Regions from separate parts of the Homo sapiens genome. Here all the other regions are linked to region 1. Evidence: promoter capture Hi-C in 16 types of primary human blood cells and fetal thymus (Javierre and others, 2016). All regions are on one chromosome and are shown on one strand. The core of a region is centred on a gene start or on the middle of the fragment in contact, and the rest is flanking DNA. Distances in the headings are between cores, read along the strand shown. Region 1 holds the start of DNTTIP2 (deoxynucleotidyltransferase terminal interacting protein 2). Region 2 has its middle 38 kb from the start of FNBP1L. Region 3 has its middle 18 kb from the start of FNBP1L. Region 4 holds the start of FNBP1L (formin binding protein 1 like).

Region 1 (3,577 bases), core at 470-2,969:
TACTTACAGAGGTTATTATCTACCCAAAATCTTCTCTTCTTCACTCCACTTGAACATACTTGCATTCACATTCTCCTCTCTGTTTCAGATATCAACTCTTTCCTCCTGGCTCAAAGGAAGGTGCATTCTTTTCTGACTACACCCACATCTCTGTTTATTATCCAGTTCAGTTAGCATTAGGCTCGGCTGCAAATAGAAAAATCCTTAATTAACAGTGGCTTTTAACAAGGTGTTTCCATCAGGTGAAAAATCTAGAAGGCGGCTCTTGAGGGCTCATAGGGCAGCTCCACAAGTTGATTTTTCCATCTCACTGCTATGCCATCTCTAAAGCATGCCTTCATCCTTATGGCACAAACTTGCCGCCTGAAAACCAGCGAACCCAACTTTCCAGGAAGTAAAATGCACTTTAAAAGATCAGGAGGGCTGGGCGAGGTCGTTTAGGCCTATAATCCCAGCACTGTAATCCCAGCACTTTGAGAGGCCGAGGCGGGTGAATCACCTGAAGGCAGGAGTTCAAGACCAGCCTGCCCAACATGGTGAAACCCCGTCTCTACTAAAAATACAAAAAAAAAATTAGCCAGGAATGGTGGCGGGCGCCTGTAATCTCAGCTACTCAGGAGGCTGAAGCAGGAGAATCGCTTGAACCCGGGAGGCGGAGGTTGCAGTGACCCAAGATTGCGCCATTGCACTCCACCCTGGGCGACAGAGCAAGACTCCGTCTCCAAAAAAAAAAGTCAGGGACGGCCTCCTCTCTTTTAGATGCCGTCCCTAAAGACATGCACACAATTTATACCTAATTGGCTAAAACGTAGTCACATAGCCACATTTGGCTGCAAGAGAGACTATAAAATAAGCTATTTTAAGCTGGGAAGCAGTGTGTCCATCGACACAGTGTTCTGTGACTTTAAATAAAAAATTGGTTTTCTGTCATGAAGTAGAGACTAGGTTTGGTGAGGCACTCATTCATCCTTTCTCACCTCCAACAATAATTTGCGTTTACTTATTTTTTCAACCCCTTCCCATCCCCTCAAACATAGTTCTCTACCTTTTATCTCAAAAGATAACCAAAGAAACCTCTTGATTCTGGTCATACTCTTCCTTTCACTGTGACAATAACAACAACAACAACAACAACAAAACCTTATTCTTCTCCTTTACAATTTCTTTAACGTTTTTTTCTTTTCTGCTATTCCCAATCCCTAAACACCATCTCACGTTTAGATTATACAGCTTTCCACTTCGTCTCCCAGTTCCTGCGAGCACCTTATATCCCTTTTACCCCAACCAAGTCCTTAAATTTTATTTATAGTTAGCGTCACAATACACGAGTAAATATTGTCTTTCTTTAAAAAGCACAAATATCTCAAACTTCTCCCTTGGACATACCAATGGCTACATTAAGCTCTTTAGAACGTAGAAATGAAAGAACGCCTCCCGGGTTCAAACGATTCTACTAAACAAATGAAAGAACGAATGGCATGTAAGTGCGTTTTTACAATTCATGTGAACGGGTACGCTAAGACCCTCTGTCACTGCGGGCTTCGCCGCCCCGATGAAGGTCTTTCCCAGCAAAAATCTGGCTTGCCTTCTACAGCTCTGAAATGCACACTTAAACCCAGGCCCTTTGTCTCTGACCGCCCTGGCCTGAACTGGCTGGGCGGAGATTCTCGCGAATTCTCGGATCTGCGCGGAAAACGCGCTCGAGGCAGTTCTCTGACGCATTTCCGGAGCGCCAGGGAAGAGGGAAGTCGTGGTGGTCGCGAGGGAGCCGGAAAGATGGTGGTTACCAGATCTGCACGGGCTAAGGCCAGCATCCAAGCCGCGTCGGCTGAAAGTTCCGGGCAAAAGGTAGGAAATCCAGTCTTCCCTACTTCTCGCCGCTTCGCAGAGCCGCGCTCAGGCAGGCGGGGCGGCGCAAGGGTCCGGTTAAGGGTGAGGACCTGCCGACAGAGAGGACCCGAGCTTGCCGCGCGCTTGGGTCTCCCAGGCCCCGTGCTAAGCCTGTCACGGAAACTGTTTAGCCTTCACCACTGTCTCTTAAGGCAATTTTTAGTATGGAAGAGAGGTTAGATAACTTTATTTGGGTCGTTCAACTCCTTAATGCAGAAGCACAGTTCGAACTTTTAAACCTTACTGTTAACACGGTACCAAGGAGGGTTAATTTCGGCCACCATGCACAAGCCCCATTTAGGGGGGCTGGAAAAAAAGCTTCGTTTTCACGTGGGGAGGCTGGCAGCTGTCCAGCATCACCTCCTTAAGGCGTGAGGAGGGCTGTGGTGTCGTCGCCTGGTGACTCTTAGTGGCGTTAGTCGGCTGTCTCATTCTGACTCAGCGATGCAGGGAACGGAGCGGCGGCGATTTTTTCCTGTACGTAAAGGTAAGGGCGGCGACTGATTCCATCAGTGTGTTCCTAAACACATCGGTGTTCAGAGTTAATATTCCCTTTCTCCCCTCTTCTATAGGTGGGTCAGAATGTTGGTCTACCCATTATATTTGACTTTAAACAGAAAAATTTTAATCGTTCTGCTTCTGAAGTTACATCTAGGAAGGATGAGGCTAGTGAAGTAAATGCAGGGTTGGCTCCAGTGTTTAAATTTTGATTTTTTTGTTTGTTTGTTTTTGATTCGGAGTCTTGCTCTGTCGCCCAGGCTAGAGTGCAGTGGCGCAGCCTCGGCTCACTGCAACTTCTGCCTCCCGGATTCCAACAATTCTTCTGCCTCAGGCTCCTGAGTAGTTGGGATTACAGGTGCGCACCAACACGCCCCGCTAATTTTTTTACTTTGAGTAGAGATGGGGTTTCACTATGTTGGCCAAGCTGTCTCGAACTCCTGACCTCGTGATCCACCTGCCTCGGCCTCCCAGAGTGCTGGGATTACAGCCGTAAGCCACCGCGCCCGGCCAAATTTTGATTTTTTAAAAATCATGAGTTGGGCAGGTTTTTTTGTTTTTTGTTTTAAAGGTAATCTTGTTTACTGGGTTTTAGCTTTTGGGGTCAGTATTTCATTTGCTTTGCCCTTGTTCCAGCCCTACCTAAATTACAGTGTGTTTTCTCTGGTTTGCAGAGTTTTGCTGCTAATGGGATTCAAGCGCATCCAGAAAGTAGTACTGGATCTGATGCCCGAACTACTGCTGAATCACAGACCACTGGGAAGCAAAGTTTAATCCCTAGAACTCCTAAAGCTAGAAAGAGGAAGAGCAGAACTACAGGCTCACTACCAAAGGGGACTGAACCATCTACGGATGGAGAAACCTCTGAGGCAGAGTCAAATTATTCTGTGTCTGAGCACCATGATACCATTTTAAGGGTAACTAGGAGAAGGCAGATCTTAATTGCATGCTCCCCAGTGTCCAGTGTTAGGAAAAAGCCGAAAGTAACTCCAACAAAGGAGTCTTACACTGAAGAAATAGTGTCTGAAGCAGAATCTCATGTTTCAGGTATTTCTAGAATTGTGCTTCCTACAGAAAAAACTACAGGAGCCAGAAGAAGTAAGGCTAAATCTCTGACAGATCCAAGCCAAGAATCTCATACAGAAGCTATATCTGATGCTGAGACATCAAGCTCAGACATTTCATTCTC
Region 2 (3,577 bases), core at 664-3,163, 470 kb after region 1:
GTGCGCACCTGTAGTCCCAGCTACTCAGGAGGCTAAGGCAGGAGAACTGCTTGAATCCAGGAGGTGGAGGTTACAATGAGCCAAGATTGCGCCACTGCACTCCAGCTTGGTGACGGAGCAAGATTCTGTCTCAAAAAAAAATAAGGGGGTATAATTGCCTTGCTGACACTATATAAGCACACTTGCACCCAGAGAAAAAGAGAGACAGTCACAGCTGTCTGGAGGGACAGGGGGGAGCCAGGACACAGCTTGGACAACTCATGCACAGAGAGAGAAAGAGTTAAGCTGCTGACCCTGACAGGAGAGCTGGCCACGCAGCTGTGTGCGGGAGCCACTGGACTAAGCAGCCAAGATGAGGCGAACAGTGTGAGAGAGCTAGTGTAAGTAAGCTGCTGAATAAAACTACATTGTACCTGCCTACGGCCCCCTGAATAGTCTTTCAACTATCTCCTCATCCACCCACTCCCCTCGGACCTCAGTATGGGCTGAAACCTGGCCCTGGGCATGACAATTGGCATAGTCATGGACCTGACACCTACCACCCTTGAGAAATGTCTTTGTAGTGTGGTGCACTGTGGAAGTATCATGCAGCCTGGTCTTAGAATGTTTCCCTCTTTCTTGAACCTTGAATCCAAGGTTCAATGTAAAAATGGGGTCCTTGATTTTTAAAGATCTAGATGCACTGCCTTCCAGTTGTGCCTGCTTTCACATACTTAAGTATTAATACTTAAATATGTGAAGAATAAACTGCAAGTGCTTTCTTTGCTCTATTCATTAAAAGTCTGCACCCTAAAGTCAGTAATCTAATTAAGAAACAAGGTAAAGTGAAAATACCTATGTAACTGTCTCCAAAATAAGACTTTCTGGCATTTAGCTGGCTATTTTCAAACACTTTGTAAAAGAAATTTACATCTATACAAGAAATCTCCATTTGTAAGGGCATCTCCCTCACTGCTCTTAAACCACTAGAAATTTTTACAATGGGGAAGGCTTGGCTTAGAGTTTACCTAACAAACCTTATCTTGTTTAAGACACTTTTCCTGGCAACCTTGTCTTGACTGGGCCTTTACCTATGCCCTTCTTTGTCTCATGAAATAATGGTGTTTAGACCTAAATACTGTGCCTTTGGGATGTAAATTTTCACCTAAGAGTCATGTCCTTTGTAAGTGCAAATTTAAAGTTACCCAGTTAACAATTGTTGACGATTCGATAGTCTAAAGTGGGGAAGGGAAATTATTTGAATTGGCAAATGAAAAACCTAATAAAGTTATAAAATCTGCTTCTGTCTGTGTATGGTCTGTGTATATTCTGTCTGTATATTTTTATGCTTATACATGTCATGAGTACATGAAATTTTACTATCAAAATATATGAAAGGGCTCTAATTGGCTTAAAGTAAAAGTAAGAACTTACATATTTTATCAGAAAAATAGACACAAACTCAAATGCCTTTGAGTTCACACAACTTAGGAAATCTTTAGTAAATAAGACTAGTTTAATATTGCTATTTTAATAAAAACAGAAGTGTCTTCTAAACAGCAGAATACCCATGTGTTTAACTTTAGGGTTCTTGCTTAGGTAGTGGCTAACATACTAGGTAGCCTAACATTCACAGGATGTAAAAACAATTAACAAACAAATAACTTGAGTTCATGGCTAGCTTTGTTTAAGAAACTGTTCAAGCATAATTGATAAGAATGAATAAATATCTCATCTGAAGGAAAAAATAAATGAAAATAAAATAAAAAAGAATGAATAAATAAAATAAAAATGCAATAAAAGTTTATAAATGAAATTTTCATAGTTTTAAAATCTTTTTCAGAAGCTTAAAGTCATGTCATGTTACATTAAGTATTAGATAATCATAAAATGTGTGAGTCATTTATAATAGCATAGAAAGGCTAAATATACTTCAATCTGTTAATAAACAAAAAAATGATGAGTATCTTTCTAAAAACTATGAAATGGGCTTCACCTACAAATACTGGTATGTAAGCTTAAAATTACTAACTTCCTAGGCTTTCTTTAGATATTAGGGTTGCTAAGAGTTGAAATTGTAGTTTATATATATATATAACTAAAACTATAAGATATAAAAAAAAATTCTATATACAGAGTACACAAAGAAAGTAAGATGTGGGCCAGGCATTGCGGCTCACATCTGTAATCTTAGCACTGTGGGAGGCTGAGACAGAATTGCTTGAGCCCAGGAGTTTGAGACAACATAGGTAACATAGTGAGACCCCCATCTCTATAATATGTTTTTAGTAGCCAGGCATGGTGATGCACATCTGTAGTCCCAGCTACTCAGGAGGCTGATGCAGCAGTATTGCTTGAGCCCATGAGGTCGAGGCTATAATGAGCCATGATTGTGCCACTGCATTACAGAATGGGTGACGAAGCAAGAGACCCTGTCTAAAAAAAAAAAAAAAAAAGTAAGAAAGATGTATTTTTGGTAAAGAAAGTTGAAAAGAGTAATTTTTTCTTTTGCATGAGGGAGAACTTGGTGTAGTCAAAATAGTAAGAAGGAAGCAAAAGTAAATTTTTGTCCTAAGGTAGAATACCAGTATAAAAAGGCAATATAGGACAAAACTGAAGGTTTAAGTAAGCCGTAGAAGGTTTGTGGAAGATTAATCTTGGGAAAGGAATTTTATGTGTGATCAAGTTGGCTAAAATTAGAAGGGAATTATTTATAAGTTTTTCTAAAGTTTGAAGATTAATATCAAAAGCATGCTGATGTATCTGGGCATGGTGGCTCATGCCTGTAATCCCAGCACTTTGGGAAGCTGAGGTGGGTAGATCACTTGAGGCCAGGATCTTGAGAAGAGAGGCCTTCTACCAAATGTACAGTTATTACAGGCACAGTCTAATGGTGAATCCTTGAGTTGGCTTCTTAGCATTGAGATGCCTTTAAAAATCTAATCCAAGAGTCCTTACAAGACCAGCCTGGCCACTGTGGTGAAACCCTGTCTCTACAAAAAAATATCAAAAAATAAAATAAAATAAAATTAGTCAGGTGTGGTGGCATGCACCTGTAGTTCCAGCTACTGGGAAGGTAAAATCACAAGCAAGTTAGTTACTTCCAAGATACAATGTGGATACGGGCATTGGGTAAATGTTCCCATTCCAAATAAGAGAAATTGGCCAAAACAAAGGGGCTACACGCTCCATGCAAGTTCAAAACCCAACAGGGCAGCAATTAAATCTTAAAGCTCCAAAATAATCTCCTATGACTCCATGTCTCACATCCAGGGCACATTGACACAGGAGGTGTTCTCCCAAGGCCTTGGGCAGCTCTGCCTCTGTGGCTCTGCAGGGTACAGCCCCTGTGACTGCTTTCACATGTTGGTGTTGAGTGCCTGGGGCTTTTCCAGGCACACAGTGCAAGTTGTAGGTGGATCTGCCATTCTGGGGTTCTGGAGGATGATGGCCCTTTTCTCACAGCTTCACTAGGAAGTGCCCCAGTGGGGACTATGTGGGAGCTCCAACCCCACATTTCCCCTCTGCACTGCCTTAGTAAAGGTTCTCCATGCAGGCTCTGGCCCTGGAGCAGACTTCTGCCTGGACATGCAGGCTG
Region 3 (3,577 bases), core at 785-3,284, 450 kb after region 1:
AAATTTATTCCTAAATATTTTAAATTTTCTAGTCTGGGTGCAGTGGCTCATGACTGTAATTCCAGCAATTTGGGAGGCCAAGGTGGGTGGATCACTTGAGGCCATGAGTTATGGACCAGCCTGGCCAACATGGTGAAACCCTGTCTTTACTAAAAATATAAAAATTAGCCAGATGTGGTGGCGCATGACTGTAGTCCCAGCTACTTGGGAGGCTGAGGCACGAAAATCACTTGAACCCAAGAGGTGAAGTTGGCAGAGCCAAGATCATGCCAATGCACTCCAGCCTGGGTGACAGAGCAAGACACTGTCTCAAAAAATTTTTTTCAATGTTATTATAAATGGTATAGGTTGTAGAATTTTGATTCCTGACTGTGGTTAATATTTTTATGTATTTTGTACATTATATATACTTCAATGATGACTCACTTCTTAGTTATATAGTTATATTATCTTTCTTGAGGGGTTCCTTAAGATTTTCTACCTAGATGATTTTGTTGTTCCAAATAAAATTTTCCTTCTTCTTCTATAATTTATATACTGTTACTTCTTTTTATTTTCTTAATAAAATGTTGAATAGAAGAGGTGAGCATGGAGGACCCATCCAGTGGCTCATGCCTATAAACCCCAACACTCTGGGAGACCAAGGCAAGAGGATTACTTGAGCCCAGGAGTTTGAGACAAGCCTGGGTAACGTGGTGAAACCCTGTCTCTACCAAAAATACAAAAAAAAAAAAATTAGCTAGGCATGCTGGTGCACAGCTGTATTCCCAGCTACTTGGGAGGATGAGATAGGAGAATTAATTGAGCCCAGGAGGTCAAGGCTGCAGTGAGCCATAATAGCGCCACTGCATTCCAGTGTGGGTGATAAAGCGAGAACCTGTCAAAGAAAAAGAGGTGAGCATGGACATTTCTTTCTTTCTTTGGAATCTTAGACAGAAAGCATTCAGTTGTTCATGATAAACCATGACGGTAGCTGTAAATTTTTTATATATGGACTTTGTCAGGTAAAAGAAATTCCCTTCTATTCCTACACTGATGAAAGTTTTCGTTAGGAATGAATGTAAGACCTTGTCAAATGTTTTTCTTTCAGCTATTGAGAAGAATTTGTGTGTGTGTGTGTGTGTGTGTGTGTGTGTGTGTGTGTGTGTGTGTGTAGATTAAATTACATTGGTTAATTTTCTAATTTTTTTCACCAGTCTTGCATTTGTGGGATAAACTAGTTTGGTCAGAATATATTAACCATTGTATTCATTACGGGATTTATTTTGCTAACATTTTGTTGAGGAATTTTATTTCAATGTTCATGAAGAACAGTGGCATACAGTTTCATTATCTTCTGTGTTTTTGTTTGGTTTTGGTACCGGGTGAATGCTAGTCTCATATAATGAATTAGGGGAAGTTTCTTCTTCTTCAATTTTCTGAAAGAATTTTTGTAGAACTGTTATTATTTTGCTTTTACATTTTGGTAGACTTCAACAGTGAAGCCATCTGGGCCTGGAGTTTTCTTAATGGGAAAATTTTTAATTAAAAATTTGATTTCTTTAATAAAAATAAAACTTTGCATATTACTATTTCTTCTTGAGTAAGCTTTGGTAGCTTGCCTATTTCATTTAAGTTGTTGAATATATTAGTAAAAAGTTATAATAGTCCCTTATTATCCTCTTAATGTTTATAGAACCTATAATTATGTCACCCTTTCCTTCTCAATATTAGTGATGTGTATCTTCTTTTGTCTCCTATCAGTCAGGCTACAGGTTTATCAATTTTATTGATCTTCTCAATCTGTTTTTGGCTTTATTGATTTTCTCTATTCTTCTTGCTTATTTGTTTTCCATTTCTCTGATTTCTGCTCTTATATTTATTACTTTCTTTGGCTGATTTGGATTTGAATTGTTCTTCTTTTTACAGTTTCCTAAGGTCACTAATTTGAAACAATTTTTAAAATATATATGCCCTTAATGCTATATATTTCCTCCTAAGCACTGCTTTAGCATCATCTCACAAATTTTTCTTTTTACTCAATTCAAATAATTTCTAACATTCTTTTGCTTGCCTTTTTGATACTTGAGTTATTTAGAAGTGTGTTATTTATGTTTAATATCCACCTATTTGGGGATTTTTCAGATATCTTTCTGTTGTTGAGTTCCATTTAATTTTCTTGTTGTCATATTTTGTATATTTGAATTATTTTCAACTTACTGAGACTCGGTTTTTGATCAGAATATGACTTATCTTGGTAAATGTTTTGTGGATATTAGAAAAGAACATGTATTTTGTTGCTGTTGGGTGAAGTATTTGATAAATTTCAATTAGGTCAAGTTGGTTTATGGTGTTTGAATCTTCAATATCTTTACAGATTTTCTGTTTATCTCTTCTATTAAATTCTAATGAGAAAGATGCCAAAGTATCTTACTATAATTGTGAACTTATATATTTTTCCTTGCAGTTCCATCAGTTTTATTTTGTGTATGTGAAGCTTAATTATCAGGTGCATAAACATTGAGAATTGCTAAGTTCTCTTGACCAATTGACTCCTTTGTTTTATCTCATTTTCTTTTCTTTTTTTTTTTTTTTTTGAGATAGGGTCTCACTCTGTCATCTAGGCTAAAGTATAGTGGCATAATCATGGCTCAAGGTAGCCTCAATTTTTCCCGGGCTCAAGTGATCTCCCACCTTAGCCTCCTGAGTAGCTGGGACTACAGGCACTCGCCACCACACCAAGCTAATTTTTTAACTTTTTTTTCACTATGTTGCCCAGGCTGGTCTCAAACTCCTGGGCTCAAGTGATCCTCTTGCTTCAGCATCTGGAGTAGCTAGGGTTACAGGCACACATCACTGTACCTGGATTTAGGATGATTCTTTTTAACACTGGCAATATTCTTTGCTCAGAAATCTACTCTGTCTGAAATTAATATTGTCATCCTAGTATTCTTTTGATTAGTGTTAGCATGAGATTTTTTTCCATCTTTTAATTTTTAGGTTATTTGTTACTTTGTTTTTCAAATGGGTTTCTTATAGGCAGCATATAGTTGGGTCTTGCTTTTCTACCCAACTTGACAATCTCTGCCTTTAAATTGGGGTGTTTAAGATGTTTACACTTAACATAATTAAGGATATGGTAGGGTTTAAGTCTACCATCTTACTTTTTGTTTTCTGTTTGTCCTATTTGTTTTCTGTTCCCCCTTTTTCTTGTTAACTTCTCTTGGATTGAGTATTTTTTATTATTCCATTTTATCTCCAGTTGGCCTATTAGCTACAACTCTTTGTTTTGTATTTTAGTGGTTACTTTAGGGTTTCTAATATACATTTTTTAAACTTTATTTTTAAAATGACTGTTTTCCTTTTTGAGACAGGGTCTTGCTCTGTCACCCAGGCTGCAGTGCAGTGGTGTGATCTCGGCTCACTGCAACCTTCGTTTCCCAGGCTCAAGTGATCCTCCTACCTCAGCCTCTCAAATAGCTAAGACTGCAGGTATGTACTACCACACTTGACTAATTTTTAAATTTTTTGCAGAGATGGGGTCTCACTGTTGCAGGATCCTTGGGTTGTTGCTTTTCTGGCTGGAAACCTCTGTGGC
Region 4 (3,577 bases), core at 591-3,090, 430 kb after region 1:
ATTTTGTAATTATAAAAACGAATGAATGCACTCTGGTAGGCATGAAAAAAATAAAAAATTTAAAAATTTAAAATAAAACTATACCCATTTCCTTTCATTGATAATTCACTATAATCAATTATAGAATGCACAAAGTGTAAGGGAAAAAGGCCAATAATGCCTGAGAAACTAACCAATGTAAAAGAATTAAACTTTATGTAATTCATTTACCATGCAATCCTCCCCAATATAAGAACAATTAATGCTATCTAAGAAACGGAATGAAGGGGCTCCTAAGGTATTTTCTCTTGGGTGGTGTGTTTTCAGACTGGGTAAGCACTTGTACAGAATGTTGCACAAGAGATTCCTGGCTGGCTAAGTAAAGCATTCACTAGATGGACTCTAAAGTCTCACAGTTCTAAGATTCCCAATCTATGAGTAGACGTGAAAAATAAGAAAACATTTTGCCTTTCAATTAACCCATTGGCTTTCACTCCCACCCTAGCTGGGCACACACATACTCAAAAGTTATTTCTCCCCTTTCTCTGCAGTGATTTCACGAGATCCTCGCGAACAAAAGGCACGGAAAACAGGCACAGGTGGAATAAAAAGGGGAGTGGCTGAGGCCAGGCGGCTCTCGGGACAGCGCCCCCACGCCCCCAGTTCTCCCGGCCGCACCTGAGAAATCACTGCCCTCCGCACCTGAGAAATCACTGCCCTCCACACCTCGACCCTTCCGCGCCGGCGCCAGGAGCAAATTCTCCGACCTATTACCCTCCGCCCGTACCTTGGCCAGACACTGGGCATTGTCTGGAGCCTCCTGTGCCAAAGAAAGGCAAGGAGGAAAGGAAAGGAGAGAACGAAGGAGAAAGAACAAGTGAGAATAAAGAACGGAAAGGGAAGTAAAGCAACAGGGAGACCGTACGCTCCTTTTGGTAAAATTAGCTTCCTCATCGATCACTCGATTTAATTCAGCCCCCAAAACCAACCCACCAGCCCAAAGGCTGCAGCCGGGGGTGGCCAAACCGGAGTCCCTCGAAGCTGTGCCCGCCCGAAGCACTGAGGCAGGGAGAGAGAAATGTGCGTGTGGGCTGGGCCTGGCTGGCCCGAGGCCGGGCTCCGAACAAAGCCGCCTGGGTCCCCATACCTGGGGCGAGGGCTCTGGGCGGCGCCGCCCCAGACGGGCGACGCCCTAGCCCCGCGGACCTGGCCCGGGCGAGGAATCGCGGCCGGTCCCCTCCCCGCCCTCGAACAGCGCCCCTTGGGGACAATGGGCCCCCTCCCCCGCCTCCGGGAGGAGAGATACAAAGGAAGAGAGGAGCCGCCGGGCGCGAAGCCAGGCGTCGGGAAAAGTGAAGGTGGAGGAGGGAGAAGGAACAAGAGGGGATCACGGCGCACGCAGGAGCCCGCGGGCTGCTCCCCCGGCCGTCCCGGGCGCCGCCCGAGCTGCACCACGGCGGCAAAGGCGGGAGCACGGACTAGCGGCCCCCTAGACCCCCGGCCGAGAAGGGAAGAGGAGTCTGCACACAAAGACGAGCGGGACCCTCACCCTCCGCCAGCGCCGGACCGAGGACGGCGGAGCGCGCTTTCACCGCCGAGGGTCCGCGGCGCCCGCCCAACCCGCGCTTCTCAGGGGCCGGGGTCCGTGCGGGGCGCCCCTCTCCCCGACTCACCCACAGCTCCGTGCCCCAGCTCATGGCGGAACTTTCTGGCCGTCTGGCGGTGCCGCTGTCCTTCAGTCTGTCGGCTCCACAGTCTGTCCGACCTCTCACTCGCTGGCCGGCGGGCTAGCAGCTCAGCGGGTCTACCTCGAAAGGTGCCGCCACCGCCGGGCTCCCCAGTGAGTGAGAAAGACGCGACTGGAGAAGCCTCCGCCGCCGACGCGTCCCCGCCTCCCCGCGCTGGGCGGGAGGGGGCCGGGGCCGAGGGGAGGCGGAACGCGGCGCGGGGAGGGGGCGGGGCGCAGTGCATCCTGGGATCGGGGAGGACCTGGGCTAGCCTGGCCACCGCCGGCGGGGTCCCCAAGCGGGCACCTGGTCACCCTCGCTGGCCCCTCTCGCTGGTCGAGTCTCCTCCTGCAGGTACCCCGGAGCTTGGACTGCCCCCACTCCGCTGCCAGTCGGACCCCTGTTTCCAAGATAGAAAGGGAGAGAAGGGAAAAGACCCCCACCGCCGCTATTATCTCATTCCTCCTCTGCGCTGAGCCCCTTTACATGAGGCAATTTTAGTTACCTGCCTTTCCTGCCTCTTGTCTCCTCCACTCGGGAGAAACCTTGACAGGGAAGCGTCATCCAAATCCTAGAGTTTAGACTGAGGAGAGTTGTGTTTTATTTTTTTAAATCTTGATGCTTAAGGTGATCTCTCCTTTCAAGCCTGATGCTTTGGCATGACGATTCTTGGGAACCACCAAAATGTGCACAGGTTGAACAGCAAATGTGAAGGCAACATGTCCCCGATTCTGTCTTTAATTAAATATTTTAATTTTATAAATTCTGTCAGGAAATTATAAAAAGAGGCAGCTCTTCCAGTAATCATTTAGGTATGTTGCCAGCGCACGAGATGGAAGACGTGGACAAATGTGAGCCGAGCTGTCACCTGCGGAAGATGAGAAGGCAGCTTGCCCCATGTCTGGAATGGGCACCTCGTGGGTGAGGGTTGGATGGGAGCCAGATTTTTCTCTGGTAGTGTAAACAGCTTATTCGGAACTTCAGATCTCTTTCACCTCCCAGTATCGGAACCTTGGAGGCAGGTCCACTACTTCCTTTTTTCTCTATGGAGCTACTTCCTGGCCTATCTCCATGGAAAGGCTGTTAGCTAGTTTGGCTGGTGCTACTAGATATCAAGTACGCTGAGCAACTCCCTAACATATGCTTTAGTATTAATAGCTTGTCTCCTAAAGCAAGCAAGCGCACACACACACACTTCAAAACAGTCAACTAGTAGAGTACTCCTCAGTGCGTCATGACAGCTGGGTGTTTTAGGAAGCTCTCCCAACGGGTTCTTTGTCAGCATTGAAACTCCTCCCCTACCTGGCCTGGACAGGTGTTCCAACCTCTTCCGCTTAATCCGTATTCTTTTGCCTAGCTGCGCTCCCTCTTGGAGTTGAGGCCAACAGCCTGAGTTCGCCTGACAGTCCAGTTGCTAATCTTCCTAAATTCTCTGCTGTCCTTTTCTGAGGCCACTTTAAGCATACAAATGCCCTCTTCCAAGTGGGTTATAGCCAATTTTTAAATGCTTAACTTTGTACCATGCAGTGAAAAGCCTGTGAAGGATTGAACAACACTTTCTAACATTTTTCTACATTGCCTCTATTCCAAAATAATTTCTTCGTTTATTTATGTCACCTAACACTGTTAACCGCCTCTCCCATCACTTCCTATCACTCCCTAGAATCATGAATGTATTTTGCAATTGCAAGTAACATTAATTAGTAAGGGGAAATGGATTTTTTTTTTTTTGAGACGGCGTTTCACTCTTGTCACCCAGCCTGGAGTGCAGTGGCGCGATCTCGGCTCACTGCAACCTCCACCCCCCAGGTTCAAGCAATTCTCCTGCCTCAACCTCCCGAGTAGCTAGGATTACAGGCGCCTGCCACCAC

What was found. Contacts are between HindIII fragments. The CHiCAGO score rates a contact against its expected background, and 5 or more counts as called.
Region 2: a fragment that was not itself captured here is called in contact with the fragment with the promoter of DNTTIP2 in region 1 in 1 of 17 cell types (M1 macrophages); the score reaches 8.7 in M1 macrophages.
Region 3: a contact is called between a fragment that was not itself captured here and the fragment with the promoter of DNTTIP2 in region 1, in 5 of 17 cell types (M2 macrophages, M1 macrophages, M0 macrophages and 2 more). The highest score is 12.6, in M2 macrophages.
Region 4: the fragment with the promoter of FNBP1L here is called in contact with the fragment with the promoter of DNTTIP2 in region 1 in 15 of 17 cell types (M2 macrophages, M0 macrophages, monocytes and 12 more); the score reaches 34.9 in M2 macrophages.

What each region holds. Positions count from the first base shown.
Region 1 is chr1:93,877,348-93,880,924 of GRCh38, reverse strand. It overlaps DNTTIP2 (deoxynucleotidyltransferase terminal interacting protein 2), which reads left to right and starts at 1,719. Exons shown (of 7, transcript NM_014597.5): 1 at 1,719-1,848; 2 at 3,063-3,577. The coding sequence starts at 1,777. RefSeq lists enhancers at 897-1,712, 1,564-1,993. The HindIII fragment of the contact is 5,310 bases long and covers 1-2,210 here.
Region 2 is chr1:93,408,640-93,412,216 of GRCh38, reverse strand. No RefSeq gene overlaps it. Among named protein-coding and RNA genes, the nearest start is that of FNBP1L, 38 kb to the left of the region's middle. The HindIII fragment of the contact is 171 bases long and covers 1,828-1,998 here.
Region 3 is chr1:93,427,998-93,431,574 of GRCh38, reverse strand. No RefSeq gene overlaps it. Among named protein-coding and RNA genes, the nearest start is that of FNBP1L, 18 kb to the left of the region's middle. The HindIII fragment of the contact is 889 bases long and covers 1,590-2,478 here.
Region 4 is chr1:93,446,381-93,449,957 of GRCh38, reverse strand. It overlaps FNBP1L (formin binding protein 1 like), which reads right to left and starts at 1,840. Exons shown (of 17, transcript NM_001164473.3): 1 at 1,653-1,840. The coding sequence starts at 1,676. RefSeq lists silencers at 1,683-1,732, 2,672-2,966 and an enhancer at 1,213-2,191. The HindIII fragment of the contact is 14,675 bases long and covers 1-3,577 here.